Regions from separate parts of the Homo sapiens genome. Here region 2 is linked to region 1. The links are contacts of gene promoters, found by promoter capture Hi-C in blood cells and fetal thymus (Javierre and others, 2016). All regions are on one chromosome and are shown on one strand. The core of a region is centred on a gene start or on the middle of the fragment in contact, and the rest is flanking DNA. Distances in the headings are between cores, read along the strand shown.

Region 1 (7,915 bases), core at 4,512-7,011:
AGAAACATAAACATCCTGATTAGCAAATGTACTTATTTAATTAAATAGTAACTGTCAACATTAAAAGGCATACAATAAAAAATGTCCTTGAGTGAGTTAAAGAAGAAATAACTCTGTACAACCAAGGACTTTACAAAGTTTTAGAGGAAAAAAATAACTTTAATAAGGTTTCCCAACTCTTCTATTTCTTACATTGAGGATTATTAATCTAATGCTAATGACCCTCAAAAAGCTTAATCTCTAGTGTAACCCTTACTCTAAAACTCCAGAATCATATAACAAGCTTTCTATTGGCATCTCCACTTAGTGTGCTAGAAATATGTTCCTTAAATAAAATTTGTGCATACCTGAGCTAATCATCTCTTCCCAGGCTTTCCCTAATCTTGCTCTTCCAGAGTTTTCTTTGAAAGATAAAAATCTACCAAATTTCCAAAGCCAGATACATGCATATTATCCTTGTTCTGCCATTTCCCATGTATCTTATATCAGATGGATAATTCTGTTATTTCTAGCTTCTAAACATCTCCATAGTACTATGTTAGTCCAACTTAAGTAAAGAAAACAACCTAGTTATTTAAACACAAAGAATTGAATGTCTGGAATTGGTTAAGTAGGTATTGGAAGACTAGAAAGTAAAAAGAGAATATTAAGGTAACACAGAGATAGAATTGCAGGAACAGCTACCACCCCTTGGACTGAGGGAACAGAGTGAGGTTGGGGTTATTAGAACTTAGGAGAGAAAAGGGCCTTGAAATTCTGGGCCCCAGGCCTTGAGGAGGGGCCATTTCTTGGTAGCTGCTCATACCTCAGAATCGCAAGGAAGGAATTGCATGAATTTGGGTTCGGGGAGAGAAACAATTAGTGCTGGGCACCTCTGAAAGGTATAAATAGGCTGGTTCTGGGAATGTGGAAAATAAGCTCGATCAATTGCTTTTTCTTGGATGAAGAGCTATTGGTGGGATGAGGCCGATAGGATTGCAAGCATATAGAAATGAGTAGATCTCTTTCTCCCTCTTTAGCGTTGTAATCTCACATGGAGTGCTCCTTAGAAAATAGACCAGGTTTCAAGAAAGGGTCATATATGCAAAGCAATCTCCAAACAAGGAAGGAGCCAAGAAACCAAATAATAAGGCAGACAAAATCAGTTTTTTGATAAAGGGTAATTTATTGGGGGAACTTACAGACAGAAGTGTGGCCTGCAGTAGCAAGACAAATAGATCTCCACACCAATACACCCCAGACCCCGGGCTTATATATCATAAGGAAAGGGGATACATGCTCTATAGAGACAATTAAAGACAACCCCCCAGAACAGGCAAGAGTGCTGTGTGCATCATAACCTATATTTGTGTGATAACATCAAGTTTGCTTTGGTCTAAAGGCAGGATTTACAGTAAGTATGTGTTCTTACACTAAGGACAGTAAATAAAGTAGGAATCCGAAGGCATTTATGGGACTGGGGTTAATGAGAAGTCAACATGGTGGATTAGCATCCAAGATGAAGTTAATTTTGTCTCCACATACCAGTAGGAAAAAAAAAAAGCTAGCTTGCAGAATGCCAGGGTAGGCATTGAAGAACCAAACATAGAAAAGTGTGTTCAATGCTAGGAGATAGCTTAATAACTCATAGTTGGCAAAGTCTGTTATTTCTACCTCCTAAACTCTAGAGTTTATCCTATTCTCTCTATCCACACTGCTGCTCTTCTGCCCCAGGTAACTATTATCATGCAGCTGACCTAATGCAATAACCTCCTAACTAGTTGCTGTTTCTTTTTTCCTGCCTCAGATCCACTCTCTGTACAACAGCCAGAGTGAGCTTTATTATATAAATAAAATTCTGATTACAACACTCCTCTACTCAAATCTCTCCAATGGGAGCCAATTTTACAGTAAGTAGCTAGTCAGACATGAGCAGAGTAGGAGAGGGCTCCCCCCACCCACCAGGAATGTCAGGTGAACATCAGGTGATAGTAAGGAGGTTGTTAACCGTCTCTCTAAAATAATAGTTGAGGGCCAGGCGTGGTGGCTCATGCTTGCAATTCCAGCACTTTAGGAGGTCGAGGTGGGCAGATCACCTCAGGTCAGGAGTTTGAGACCAGCCTGGCCAACATGGTGAAACCCCGTCTCTACTAAAAATACAAAAATACAGGTGGCAGGTGTCTGTAATCCCAGCGACTCTGGAAGCTGAGGCAGGAGAATCGCTTGAACCTGGGAGGTGGAGGTTGTAATGAGCTGTGATTGTACCACTGCACTCCAGCCTGGGCAACAGAGCAAGACTCCATCTCAAAAAAAAAAAAATTATATATATATATATATATATATATATATATATAAAATAACAATTGGTCACAGCCAGTGCCAGGGAAAGGCAGTCTCCCAATAGACAGAAAAAACTTGAAACTGGTGATCAGCAGCTTCCTGATAAGATCTCAGGAGTTGGGCGAGTGGGTTCAAGCATGCACATTAAGAGGCAGAATGGCAGAGTTTAACTGGTATATTACCTTCTAGGGACATTCAGCTGGTAAGAGAAGAGTGCTTCAAGTAAGCATGCATACAACTCCAGTAAACACACTGTGCATGCTCCCCTCCCAAATCCTGGTGGGCCACTGCACATGTGGACAGCCCACCAAAGGGCAGAATCAGGGGAGAAGGAATGCAGGACCCTGGAAGTATGCCAACGTATAAAAACCCCGAGTCAAAAGTCAAACTGCACACTTGTCTTTCAAGTTGCCCACTTGGTCCTCTTCCAAATGTACTTTACTTTGTTTATTCCTGCTCTAAAGCTTTTTAATAAACTGTCGCTCCTGCTCTAAAACTTGCCTTGGTCTCTTCTTCCATCCTATGGCCCCCAGTTGAATTCTTTCTTCTGAGAAGGCAAGAATTGAGTTTGCTGCAAACCCACACAGATTCACTGCTGGCTGGTGACATATTTTGGTGCCGTGTGACTCAGATAACTTCCACTGCTAATGTCAATGTTGGACAATGTTAGATAATGTTGAAGGATTAAGATATCAGCGTAAAACTGAGTTTCTGTGGACTATACTTCTTTGTTATGCTCTACTGAACCCCTCTTGGGGGGAAGTCTTTGGGATACACCTTACAAGAGACTCATCTCTCACAGACAGTTGGCTGCTGGTCAGTGGAGGTTGGCTGCATTTACAGCCAGGATCAAAGGATGCCACTAATTTTAAGTCCCTAGTGTTTAATTCAGATTAAACACTAGGTTTATTTCTTGACAGAAGACATTTGTCTTCTTGACAGTGTTATTTCTTGACAGAAGACATTTACCTGTGAAAGCTGTTTTCTGGAACTTCTTTTCTTTACCTGTCTTTGTAATTATAGGCTCAAAATTGCCAGAGGAAGAACCCTAAACACTTAAAAATATATCTGTTTATCCAACTTCATTCTGACAATATGCCTCCGTATTCCAATTTGACACTATAGTTTACGAAGTCCTCTTCCTTCACCTTTAATTCTCCTTTTGGCTTAGACTAGAGTTTCTCTACATTAGCACTCTTCTGAGCTGGGTAATTCTTTGCTCTGAGAGGCTGTCCTGTGCACTGTAGGATGATTAGCAGCTTCCCTGGCCTCTGCTCCCCACATTAGAGTACCATGCTCCCACTCCTAGTTGTGACCACCAAAAATGTCTCCAGACATTGCCAAATGTCTTTAGTTTCCAATAAAACGACGTTCTCCATTAAGCAACATAATTTTTTAGTGTATGTATGTCCCATATGACATTTCAGAAATTTATCTGAAATTCAAATTTAACTGAACATCTTATCTTTTTCGTTGCTAAATCTGCAGTCTATCTGGGGGCGAGATAACCCCTGGTTGAGACCCAATGGCCTAGAGTTAAATCCAAGTGTTTTACAAATAACAATGAGTCAACTGCTTTTTTCATTGGTTTGTTTTTTGAGCTAACCCTACATCATTTGCAATTATAATGAGTACTGTTCCTTTAGAACCAGATGTTGTCAAGAGATGCAGAATCTAATAAAATGAGTTTTGATCCTGATTGAAAGTTAAAGAAACATTTAGAGCTCAGTCAGGGAGGAAAGAGCTTGAAGAAGAAAGCTAGCAGCAACCTTAGGAGAGAAGCAATGACAGTGAAGAGTTCTGTCCACACAAATTAGTTGAAAGAGGTTACAAAAGAGGCTACCAGAGGTTACAAAATATTGCATAACAGAGTGAAGTACCCAATGGATATACCATTAATGTTTTTCTAAGTCAATGGGAAGACACTTAAATGTCTTAAGAGTCTACAGAAATACAAAATCAAACCAAGCCAAAGAGGAAGTCAGCTGCAATTTTAGTGGGTATTGCAGACTTCCCTCTCCTCCAACGGAAGAATTAGCTAATTCTTAAACTCCAGAGAGGCTGGCCTCGATGTCAACTGCATAGTGAAACATAAAATCTTTGAAATAATTATAAAAATAGCTCAGTATATCCACCAGTGGAGTAAGAAGAATTTCCCTGAATATTTATAAGCACAGGCCTAGTATCCTGGTCACTAGTTTCTGGCCACTAAGGAGCCTCAACTGATTGGGAAAATCACATCAATTGGTTTGAGATGGTTGAACTATTTCTTCCATGATATTATTGAGCAAATAGGCTTGCTGCCCCCTGCTCACAGAAGCCAATATCTGGACACTGGGTTTTGAGGAAAGAAAAACTTTATTGCAAGACAGGTCAGCAAGGAGACAGGAGGTGGGCTCAAATCTGCCTCCCCAGTTTGGAATCTGAGAAAATGTATGGCTTAGAGGGTGAGGGAAAGGATTTAGGAATGTTGGTTTGGCAGGGACTGATTGAAGGGCTTCAAATTTGACCACTAAAGGTAAGGTATGTTGAGGCAGATTTCAGCCCTGGATCTTTTGGGCCAATGAGCCCCTAGCTTCTGAAAGAGGTCCTGCATTTAGGTTCCCGTCATGTCCTTGTCTTCTTGGTTCCCAGGGGAGGGATCATTTGTTCTAGGTTCTGTTAGAGGCAAAAACATTTTTATTGTGCATGCCTGGGCTAAATGACTTACAGTTTTTGGCTCTGTTATATCTACAGAGTAAATTGACATTTGTTATCAACAAAGTACGGCCCATTTGGGCTGGTCCCATGGTTATAATGGGTGTGTGGACGGTCGAGTGTTTCAATTCTGGGAAAGTTTGATGTGATTGTATTCAGTTCAAGGAAAATGTGTGAATGATATCATATATAGCATATAAAATGTTTACAATATTTAAGAGATTGGGCATACTAGCATGTTTGATAAATAAATTGATGATGCAATTTAAAATGCATAACAGAGTATTTGATTTTAGACTTATGATTTTTAAATTGAATATTATAAAGTAATTTGGCTAAATGTGTGAATAGTATTGGAATATTTAAAACAACTTAAGATTTATTATGTTAGTAAATTTATTAGTTTACAAAACTGCATAAATAGCTGGAAAAGCGTTACTTGTTAGGCTGAGAATTTTGAAGATTATTTTTCAAGTTCTTTGCCAGACACGTGTGGCTCTCACAAGTAAGTTTGTTGGTCTCTAGCCTTTCTCAATGGCCACTGAAAACCAGATTTTGATTACGAAATGTCTGAAATACAGTATCTTGGTTTGAACCGTGAGTCCTTCCTGCCAATGTAAGAACTTTTCTTCCTCCCTTAACTTTGCTTCCTTCTTTCCTGCATGTTACCACTGGCAGAGCAAATATGACTCAGAAACCGGCTCCTCAGGGTTGTAACATTAGATGATACAGGCTTGGGTCGTTACACATGACACCAGTGCCTTTGTTTCATTGGGCTGGGCTCTCTGGAAGGTGTGCTGCTGCCTGAGCTGCTGGAAAAGCACTGACAGGTGTTTGCTAGAAAAGCACTCCTGGAGCTTGCCACCAGCTTGGACTTCTAGGGACTTTCCTCTCAGCCAGGAAGGATTTTGATATTCATCAGAAATACCTCCAGAAGATTCAAGGAGCTGTAGAGGTGAAGTAAGCCTGTGAAGGACCAGCATGGGAATCCTATACTCTGAGGTACATCACCTTTCTGAAAGCAGAGTTCCAAAGATGTTAAAAGTTACTCATGCTTTTCAGATGCAATTTTCTATCCCTGTTAATATATTTCTGTTTTGTCTGTTCAACTCCCTGGGGGAGCATTAAGTCAGAAAAAATAAAGTCCTATGTGTTATTCTTGTTGATATTCTTAATAGTTTAAGACAAAGTATTTTGTAATTCTAAAATATTAGCTAGATCTAAGTTGAGATGAATATAATACACATTTCATAGTATCTGGATGTTTGCAAGGATAATTTGGACAAAATCGAGTTTGAGTTGTGCTTTTCTCATGACAAACACTCAGAGAAAAAGAGAAAATTGTACTCAATTGGATTTTCTAAATATCCAAAAGATTGACTGCCTCTTTTATGGAACCACATGACCAGAGTAATGCCTTTCAGCTTGGTATTTGAAGGGAGATTCACCTTTAGTAAATATTAGTAAAGACTATCACTATGAAGAAGAGGAATAATAACATATTTTGATGATTTGATTATTTTCTTTTCACATCTGATAAATACTGAGGTACTTTTACTTGTATTGGAAGTAACTTATTAGAATCAAATGGATTTTTAATGATGTTTCAAGAAAGTACAAGCAAGGAATGTTTAGACAAGAGTACAAGAGGTGTAATGATGTCATTATACATAATTTACTCTCTCTCTCCTCTGACACAATTAACTGGTTAATCTGCATTTCATTGCAGATGCTCAGGGGAACCTTCTTGGATAGTTTTGATCTAGTATTAAAGACAGTTTATTTGCAGTTATTTCTAATGCCATGTGTGTATATATCTCTCCGTGTGTGCAAATGCAGTGTTTGATTGGTTTATAACTCTAGGTATGTCTTGCTCAGTGATTTTAGCCTCATGAAGGGATCATATACATGAAAATGACAAAACATATAGTGCTTTTAAATGCTACTCTGGTAACTCTCAAACTTTAGACTGCCCAAGTGTCAGGGAGAGAAGTTTGTTTGAAATGCAGTTTCAAGGGACTCCAACCCAGAGAGTCTGTTTCACTCAGTCTATGGTAGGATACAAAAGTATACTTTTTAAAAGGAGCATCCCAGGTGGTTCTGACATAGGGGTGATCTGTTTACCACCATCCTGAGAAAGAAAGACTGCCACAGGCCAGTGCTTTCCCGTTTTTAATGTCTATACAGATCTTCTGAAGGTCTTGTTTAAATGCAGATTCTTAGTTTGTAGACCTGGGTGGGACCTAAGATTCTGCATTTTGGTTGCTTTTTCAGATTGCATGTGGGAATTATATGTGATTTGGAAAAAGGAAAAAAAAAAGCCTAGTCTCATCCTCAGGTATTCTGATGTAGAAAGTTGGAAGTAGGACCTTTCATCTATAGTTTTAAAGAGTTTGAGACTCTTTAAAATTAAATAGTAATCTCTTAAATATTTAAACATAGCCTACTCATTTGTAATATATCATTTGCTCTGTGTTTCCTAAGGATAAAGATTGTGAGCTACTCATTAAGGACAAGAAAAAAGCCTGCTGGATCCCTGGTCCTATGTTGCCTGGAAGAATCTATTCAAAAAAAAAAAAAAAACTTCCCCCAATTTGAGTGCGGGAAGCTCCTCTAGATTGGGGACATAGGGTTATCATTTTTCCTTAGAGCTTTGCAGTGCTAATAGTTATGCAATATATATTTTTAAGAAAGAAGGAGAGAATGAGGGAGGATCCCAGAGAGCTGGTCCTGAAATCTGCACTAGAGGATAAGCTTAGAGCTCAGTGAGAGGCCCTAATTTTGAATAAGTAACTCCAACTGCGTAAGATGGACTTTTAAACAAGGCTGATTCATTTAAACCCTTATCAAAGGTATTTGTTCATAATATTTACAATAGCAACAAACATGTATTTAGGGC
Region 2 (7,915 bases), core at 3,984-6,483, 980 kb after region 1:
TTAAAATTCTCTTTAGTCATGTTTTTAATAAAAGAAATTTTCTTAAGTACAATAAGCACATAGTTTTCATTCATATACTGAAATAAACATCATAAGCCTTATTCAACTGAATTGTAACAATGAGTCCTATTTGTCTTAAATAATTGGTATCTCAAAATATCCCATATTTCAAAAGGAATTAACAGTCAAATCTTAAATTTCTTAAGAATTTAAAAAAAAATAAGGCCTTGACATTTTATTCTGCATTCAAAAGTGAGAGGCAAAGCAAACTGTAAAATCATGCAAACAGAAAAAAAATCACAGCAATCTATTCCTAGAACCCTTTTGTAATTACATTTGCCTGCCCTAAAAACAAAACAAAACCAAAAAATTCAGAATCCACTAAAGCTACCTTCTTGGCATCTTCCCATCTCTGGGCTAACCTAAAACTCCATTCCGATTTTGTTTCTTTTTTTCTAAAACTTCACTTTAATACAAGTTTCTAATTTAGATAAATAAAGCACTTTAATTCAACAGGCTGGCATAGCAAATTTAGGGCCTAGAAAAGAATGCAACACATGGATCAAAGAACCTTAGAGTCAGCCCTATTTTCTTTACTTAGAAATATTTAAGTTTGTATAGCTCGTTGGAAATTTGCAATTTTACATTGTACATTTAACTTCATCATATCTGACTATAATAAAAGCAGCTTTAGAATAAAAAAGCATAAGGTCAAAGAATACATTAAATAACAAAATAGTAAGAGAAAAGTAACTCCCAACAGTTCAACAACTACATAATTAAAGGAAAAAGGATTACTTTAAAAACTACTAGCAAAATTAAAAAAAAAATTAAACATCCTTCTGAATACTACGTACAGTATTAAAAACACTTACGGAAAACATCTTCAACCTTTTCTAACAGAAGTTCAAAGCAACACTTTCACAATCAGCCAAAGAACACATGAGTCCTCTTCAAATAAACCTTTTTTGTTATTAGGGATATCTTCTGTGGACAAAGTTCTTATTATCATATAAAGAATACTGGCCTAGCAGCAGTCAGAACACCCAGATGTTAGGACTAACTCCATCACTGATTTAGTAAGTTGACCTTCTTAAATATCACACCTGGGGGCAAAGGTACTGATTTTCATCAAATATTATACTTATTATATACCAGACATTTTACACAGCATTTTGGGCTAGATAATTCTTTGTTGATGGGGAGGGGTCTTGTGCCATATAGGATGTTAAGCAGCATCACTGGCTTCAAGCCCCTAGCCAATAGCACACTCTACCACCCCAGCTGTGACCACCAAAATGTCTCCAGAAAATGCTAAAAGTCCTAGAGGAGGTGAAAGGGGATCACTCTCAGATGGCAACCAATACTCTGAAAAAAACCTCACCTGTACTTTTAACAAAACTAAAAAACCACTGTACAAGTTTAGGATTTTTACTCCCATTTTGGAGTTGTCGAAACAGGGTTCACTAAGGTTAGGCAGTGTATCTACGTAACTGATAAGTGGCTGAGCGGGGATGTATTTATTTATTTATTTTTGAGAGAGGGTCTCACTCTGTCACCCAGGCAGGAGTACAGTGTCCCAATCACAGCTCAATGCAGCCTCAAAGTCCCAGTCTCAGGTGATCCCACCTCAGCCTCCTCAGTAGCTGGGACTACCAATGCGCACTATAACACCCGACTAATTTTTGTATTTTTTTTTGTAGAGACAGGGTCTGCCTATGTTGCCCAGACTGGTCTCGAACTTCCAGACTCAAGCAATCTGCCAACGCTGGCCTCCCAAAGCACTGGGATTACAGGCATGAGCCACCACGCCCAGCCTTGAGCAGAGATTTAATCTGGACTTTAGGTCTAGCCAACTCCAAATCTATGCTCCATTCCACCATACTGCCTTTCTAAACTCACTATCTCGTCTATAAAATCAGGATAACATTTTCCATGCAAAGTTACTTAGAGTTTACAGGTCAAATGAAATAATGCATGTATAAATTCTAATAACCTAAAGGAGTATAACATGTTAAGGGTTTGCTTGGTGGGAGATAATGTTCATTGGTGGTCCTCAAAGTGTGATCCCCAGAGCACCAGCATCAGCATCACTTGAAAACTTCTAAGAAATAAAAATTCTCAGGTCCCAATCCAGACCTACTGAATCAGAAACTCTGAGGGTGGAGTAAGCAATCCATAGCTTAATAAGCCCTTCAGGTTGTTCTAACACACTGAAGTTTAAGAACCACTCATGTAACATAATGGGAAAAATACTGCACCAAGTGCCAAAAAAGTCCTGCATCCTTCTTCAGACTCAGTCTTTCACTAGCCATTAACAAGATACTGATTCCACTGGAGCTACAATTCCTAAGCTGCAAAAAATAAATAAATAAATAAATAAATAAAATAAAAAAGAAAGAAAAATAAAAGTAATGCCTGTTCTGTCTGCCTCTTAGGTTACCTGTTCTTCTTTGCAAAATCAAATGAGCTAATGATTTAAAAAGTGTATTGTTAATCAAAAACTACATAAGACAGAGTATATATTAGCTAATTCAGTATCTTTCATAAATGATTCTTTCAAGGTATACAATAAATTTTACAACATGGTCAAATTAAGCCTAGCAAAACACTGTTTTTACCTTATAAAAATGAATAAAATAAATTTTAAAAAATCCCAGGCATTCCATTTTATCGCTGACAATCAGTGTAAAATAATTTATAATACACACTAAAAAAAAAACCTAAAAAATCAAGCTTAATGACATCCCCAAAATTTCATTTTAAAAGTACAGTTTTCAATTCTATCTAATTTCATCTCCAATCAGTTTAGAGTAACCAGAATACTCAAAAAGAAGTCTCACAAAGAGAGGGAATTTTAAATGGAAAAGAATCCTGCATTTTGAAATAAGCAAAAAGTTTGTAACTTTAAACATGTATACGATATTTATGAATCACTCTAAAAATACATCTATTCATGCCAGCAATGGTGGGTTAAATTTTTAAACGCATCTAATTAAAAGAGTATCTGAGGCCGGGCGCAGTGGCTCATGCCTGTAATCTCAGCACTTTAGCAGGCTGAGACAGGCAGATTACCTGAGGTCAAGAGTTCGAGGCCAGCCTGACCAACATGGAGAAACCCCCCATCTCTACTGAAAAAAAAAATATAAAATTAGCCGGGCGTGGTGGCGCATGCCTGTAATTCCAGCTACTTGGGAGGCTGCGGCAAGAGAATTGCTTGAACCCAGGAGGCGGAGGCTGTGGTGAGCCGAGATCACACCATTGCACTCCAGCCTGGGCAACAACAGCAAAACTCCATCTCCAAAGAGTATCTAATTCAAATCACAATGCATTTCATAATACCTTAAATAATTACATCCTCTTCAAAAGATCAAAAGTATTAAACAAATAAAATTCACAGAATACAATCTTTGCAATTACTAGTAAAGAACAGAGAACCTTATTGTACTTCAGCCTGAAAATCTACAAAAATCAAAGGAAATAAAAGTCAAAGCTATGCTTAAGTGCTCTAATATTAAATCAACAGTAAGTCTTAGGTAGTGATCTAAAGCAAAAACTAGGTGCAAGGAGAGAGATTGATTTAGAAAACTCAGCTGTGCTCAGATGCCAAAATGCACAATTCAATTCTACAACCTAGACATGGACCAAAAATACAGCTAGTTTACAAAACACATAAAATGCATAAAAATCACATAATCAGAAAGTCACATAGTATCAGACAGAGTGTATTCACTCTGCAATATAAAACACACACACAAAAAATCCACTCACTAGAAGTCAAGTGCTTCACTACTAAGAGTGCTGTGGTACATCTGGGAAATCAGTACAGCCCAAGGGGGGGAAAAATAATAATCCCTATGTACACATAATGGCCTTTACTGGACAGATAAGCTTATTCCATCTTTCCCCATATTCAATTAAAAAAATGAAGAAAAAAATCCTTTAGTTCTTTACTTCTTTCTTCCCACGTCTTGGGCCTAAATCATATTGAGAATCCTGGCCAAATGTGGAAATAGGACTCAATAATACAGAGACTGAATACTTTAAAAGTTCCCATATTATGTTAATGCATTACAGATTATATTAAGTGTCCATTTTATTGTAATAAATGTAACTTGACATTCAGTTGCAAGACTCCCTCAAAAGGCTGAAATTTTCAAAAGGAAATGCTAAAAAATATACCTCTATTGACCAAAGTTTACATAACTCATATTAAGTTTATTACATTTGAGGCAGAGTTTACTTTATGTGAATAAAAATGTATGATAGTTAAGTTGACCTATCTTCAACACTAAAGAAAATTTAAGATTATAACAAAGTTTAAAAATTCTACTTCATTATGCTAATAGGAAGTTTTTGCCTTTTATATTTTAAAGCAAATAGTTTTTGATTGGCATAATTAATTTTACTTTGGTCAACAGTTTGAGTTAGCAGAGATTTATTTCCCATTTGTGATGAACCAGCAAAATCACAGACATGTCATACCCAGACTTCCTAAAGGAATACCCTTATTTTTAAAAACACTTATAACTTGAAACAAAATCCTAACATGGCCCAAACTGAGGAAATTCAGTTACAATCATACACCATAAATGAAAATACAAATAATTTCCCTACATACATAACCTGAAATTACAGTTTTTCAGAGCAGTAGCTACCATTTAAGTATTTACAATGTGGCAGGTACTATGCTAAATGAAATTACTTATTATTATCTCACTTACTATTCAAGATAAACGTATGCGGTAGGTTCCATTATCATCCCCATTTTACAGATAAAATAGATTGAGAAAATCTAAATAACCTACTCAAAGTCATCCAGCTACTAAATGGAAGATCCAGGATTACAAAACAAGCAGTCTGGCTCCAGAGCCCACACTGCCTCCCTAAAATCTAAAATGAAACAATGTATATATGCTTAAAAGTATAGATAAACGTAATACTCAAAATTTTAACATAATTTAAAATAGATCTGACCATATTTAAAAACTATAGAACAATATTCTCTAAGGTAGTCTTTTCTTTAAAGAAACAAAAATTCGTTTTTTAATAAATATTAAGATAAAAGGTTTGCTAACTTTGTATACACATACACACACAGAGAAATCAAACACTGGTTAGATTCACTGTTCATATTTGAAGTGGTGAGTACTGATAATAATTATGTGTATAATTACTTAAAATATAATGTGTAAACAGTCTTCTTTTTCACACTATGTGGAGGTCAAGAAAATTCTTTTGATGGCAGGTACAGCTACAATATCCATCTCTCAATATTCTCAACACTGGCCAGGCGCAGTGGCTCACGCCTGTAATCCCAGCATTTTGGGAGGCCGAGGCAGGCGGATCACTTGAGGTCTGGAGTTTGAGACCAGCCTGGCCAAGGTGGTAAAACCCCATCTCTACTAAAAGTACAAAAACTATCTGGGCGTGGTGGCATGCACCTATAATCCCAGCTGCTTGGGAGGTTCAGGCAGGAGAATCGCCTGAACCTGGGAGGCAGAGGTTCCAGTGAGCCGAGATCCTGCCACTGCACCCCAGACTGGGCGATAGAGCGAGATTCCATCTCAAAAAAAAAAAAAAAAAAAAAAAAATTCTCAACACTGCCAAAAAGTAATGCCTTGAAGATGTCCTAATACCTTGAAGATGTTCACACATGTCCCAATGTCAACTGTTGCAAATGAAGAATCTGCCTTAACTATACAGAACTAAAACTTCCCAAATAAAATTAATTCACCCTTAAATTATGTTACTCTTCTTATATTTGCCGATACTTATTTATTCCAGTGCAAATTATTTTAAAAGAATTAAATTGCTAATACTTCCTCTGCAACCAATGAAAAAAATTCAAAAAACTAAGGGAAAGGTGAATAGTCAAGTACAATATACTAATTTCACCTTTCTTGGCAAATTATTTTACATTAGTGAATGCATATACTCAATATGTACAAAGAGAATCACCAAACACAGACCAATATACTTTTAACCACCTATGGAAGAACGTATATGTGGCAGTAATGCACCCTATAAAAGACTTACAGTTATCAGTTTGCTCAGCAAAGCCTTACCAATTTAAGGTTAGTCTAACCTCAACATTATTCTCTCTGATAAGCAACTAAATTAATTTCAAAGCTACCAAATAGAAAGCAATTGTAAAACAGAACTGACTGACCCCAGTCTCACAAATTTCCTAAGTCACTATCTTCAGAACAAATCCTAACATCTTTTCTTAATGAATTCAGGCCACAAGATGAATTCTTCAATGCTGACTGTGAAAATCAAGTTTAACAGAAAAAATGAAGAAAAAGGTAACAAGATTAAGAACTAATGGGTTCCATGTAATAAAACTTCTGAACTGTTTGTTTAACCCAACGGTTTCTACAGAAAAAAAAAAATACATTTCTTAAGCTATGTTAATATTACATTTTCTGGAAGCTAAATCCTTGTAGTATGGCAGAGGCCTCACATTTCAATTAAGCAGAAAATTGTCATATGCATGCAACACTTCTACAATTCTCTTTACAAACTCTGAAGTCACACACAATATCAATAATAAAAGTGATTTCCTAAGCTTTCGTCTTACTTAAAAGATTGAGATGAAAATTTAAAAATAGCACGTTTACTTCAAGTGAATTAATGTTAAAACTTTGTGAAGTGAATTTCCCATAACAAATACTCCTCCATTAAAAGTCACTGAAGTGATTACTTCAGAAGCGGCTTAAAATATTTTTTTAAGTGTTGCGCTATCACCAAATGAACAAACAGCAAATGGAGGCAAATTTCAAAATAACATTAGAAAATAAGAATTGAAGACTTCTTCACTTCCAAAAAGTAAGCCATTTCATAACACTAAGAAGTTTATGTATTTTATGTGGCTATGAGAAAGCAGATGCACTGTTCCATACAAAAATTAAAATATCACCAGTTGCCTTTCCCATGTTATTAAAAATAAAATTCTAAAAAGGTAATAAAGGAATCTTTCTTTACTATCTTCTAAAACTAAGTTTAAAATGAAGGTGGTTATACCTCACCATATTTTATTATCTTTAATCATTTAGTATTTACTTAGTATATTATAAGCAATGTAAATCTGCATTGATGACTATACTGCTGTGCAAACTTTTACACTGGCAGCAATAAAATTCCTTTTTCCTCATATAAACTGTACATTACTCCTTTCAGTTGTGCTTTACACTTGAATAAGCACTATGAAAAATGAAGTTTGTAAGTTATCATACAGCAATTAGGTGGTCCAGTCATGTTTTTCAGGAAATATAACTTAGCAGATACAAAACAATGTAAAATAAATGTTGTGAATAGAATACTTTTTAAAACCCTCATGATTAATTTCAGTAATCACTTACCTTGAGGTAATTTAGGTAACTTCAATAGTCACTGTACTCTCTACAAGTTAAAAGTATTCCCTGTGAACATTTATTTGAAAAGAGGCAAATCTACCAAACAATAAAAATACAACAGAAGCCTAACGTTTCCACATACCCTAAATACACTTAATTTTTCTATAGTCTCAAATTCAGCACTATATTTCAGACTAATATTAAGCATATAACCCTACTAACAAATTTTTAGAATAATTTAATTTTGCGATAATATTTTAAAACTGAATTATTGTCCTCAATTTTCCTCGGAGAAATGGCTTCATTATTAATCTTTCTTTATCAGATAAAAATACTCCAATCACTACTTTCATAAAGGAATTTAACTTTTCACAGGTTAGTTACTGAAATAAATACTACAACATGTCAAAGACAAAGTCTTCAATGACAATTTTAATGCCTTCCCACTCCAATAAACAGAAAACATTAACGTGAAAACAAGCAAACCAAGTACGTTGGAATATCAAAATTATTGGGAGTGCAATTATCAAAAAAGCAAGCACTTCACTGACTTTCCT

Evidence for each region. The method cuts DNA at HindIII sites, captures the fragments that hold promoters and counts their contacts. A CHiCAGO score of 5 or more calls a contact.
Region 2: a fragment that was not itself captured here is called in contact with the fragment with the promoter of ANKRD22 in region 1 in 1 of 17 cell types (neutrophils); the score reaches 5.3 in neutrophils.

What each region holds. Positions count from the first base shown.
Region 1 is chr10:88,849,690-88,857,604 of GRCh38, reverse strand. ANKRD22 (ankyrin repeat domain 22) reads left to right here and starts at 5,761. Exons shown (of 6, transcript NM_144590.3): 1 at 5,761-6,018. The coding sequence starts at 5,998. The HindIII fragment of the contact is 4,987 bases long and covers 2,786-7,772 here.
Region 2 is chr10:87,866,898-87,874,812 of GRCh38, reverse strand. The region is part of intron 1 of PTEN (phosphatase and tensin homolog); the gene reads right to left. Among named protein-coding and RNA genes, the nearest start is that of PTEN, 7.2 kb to the right of the region's middle. The HindIII fragment of the contact is 2,680 bases long and covers 3,894-6,573 here.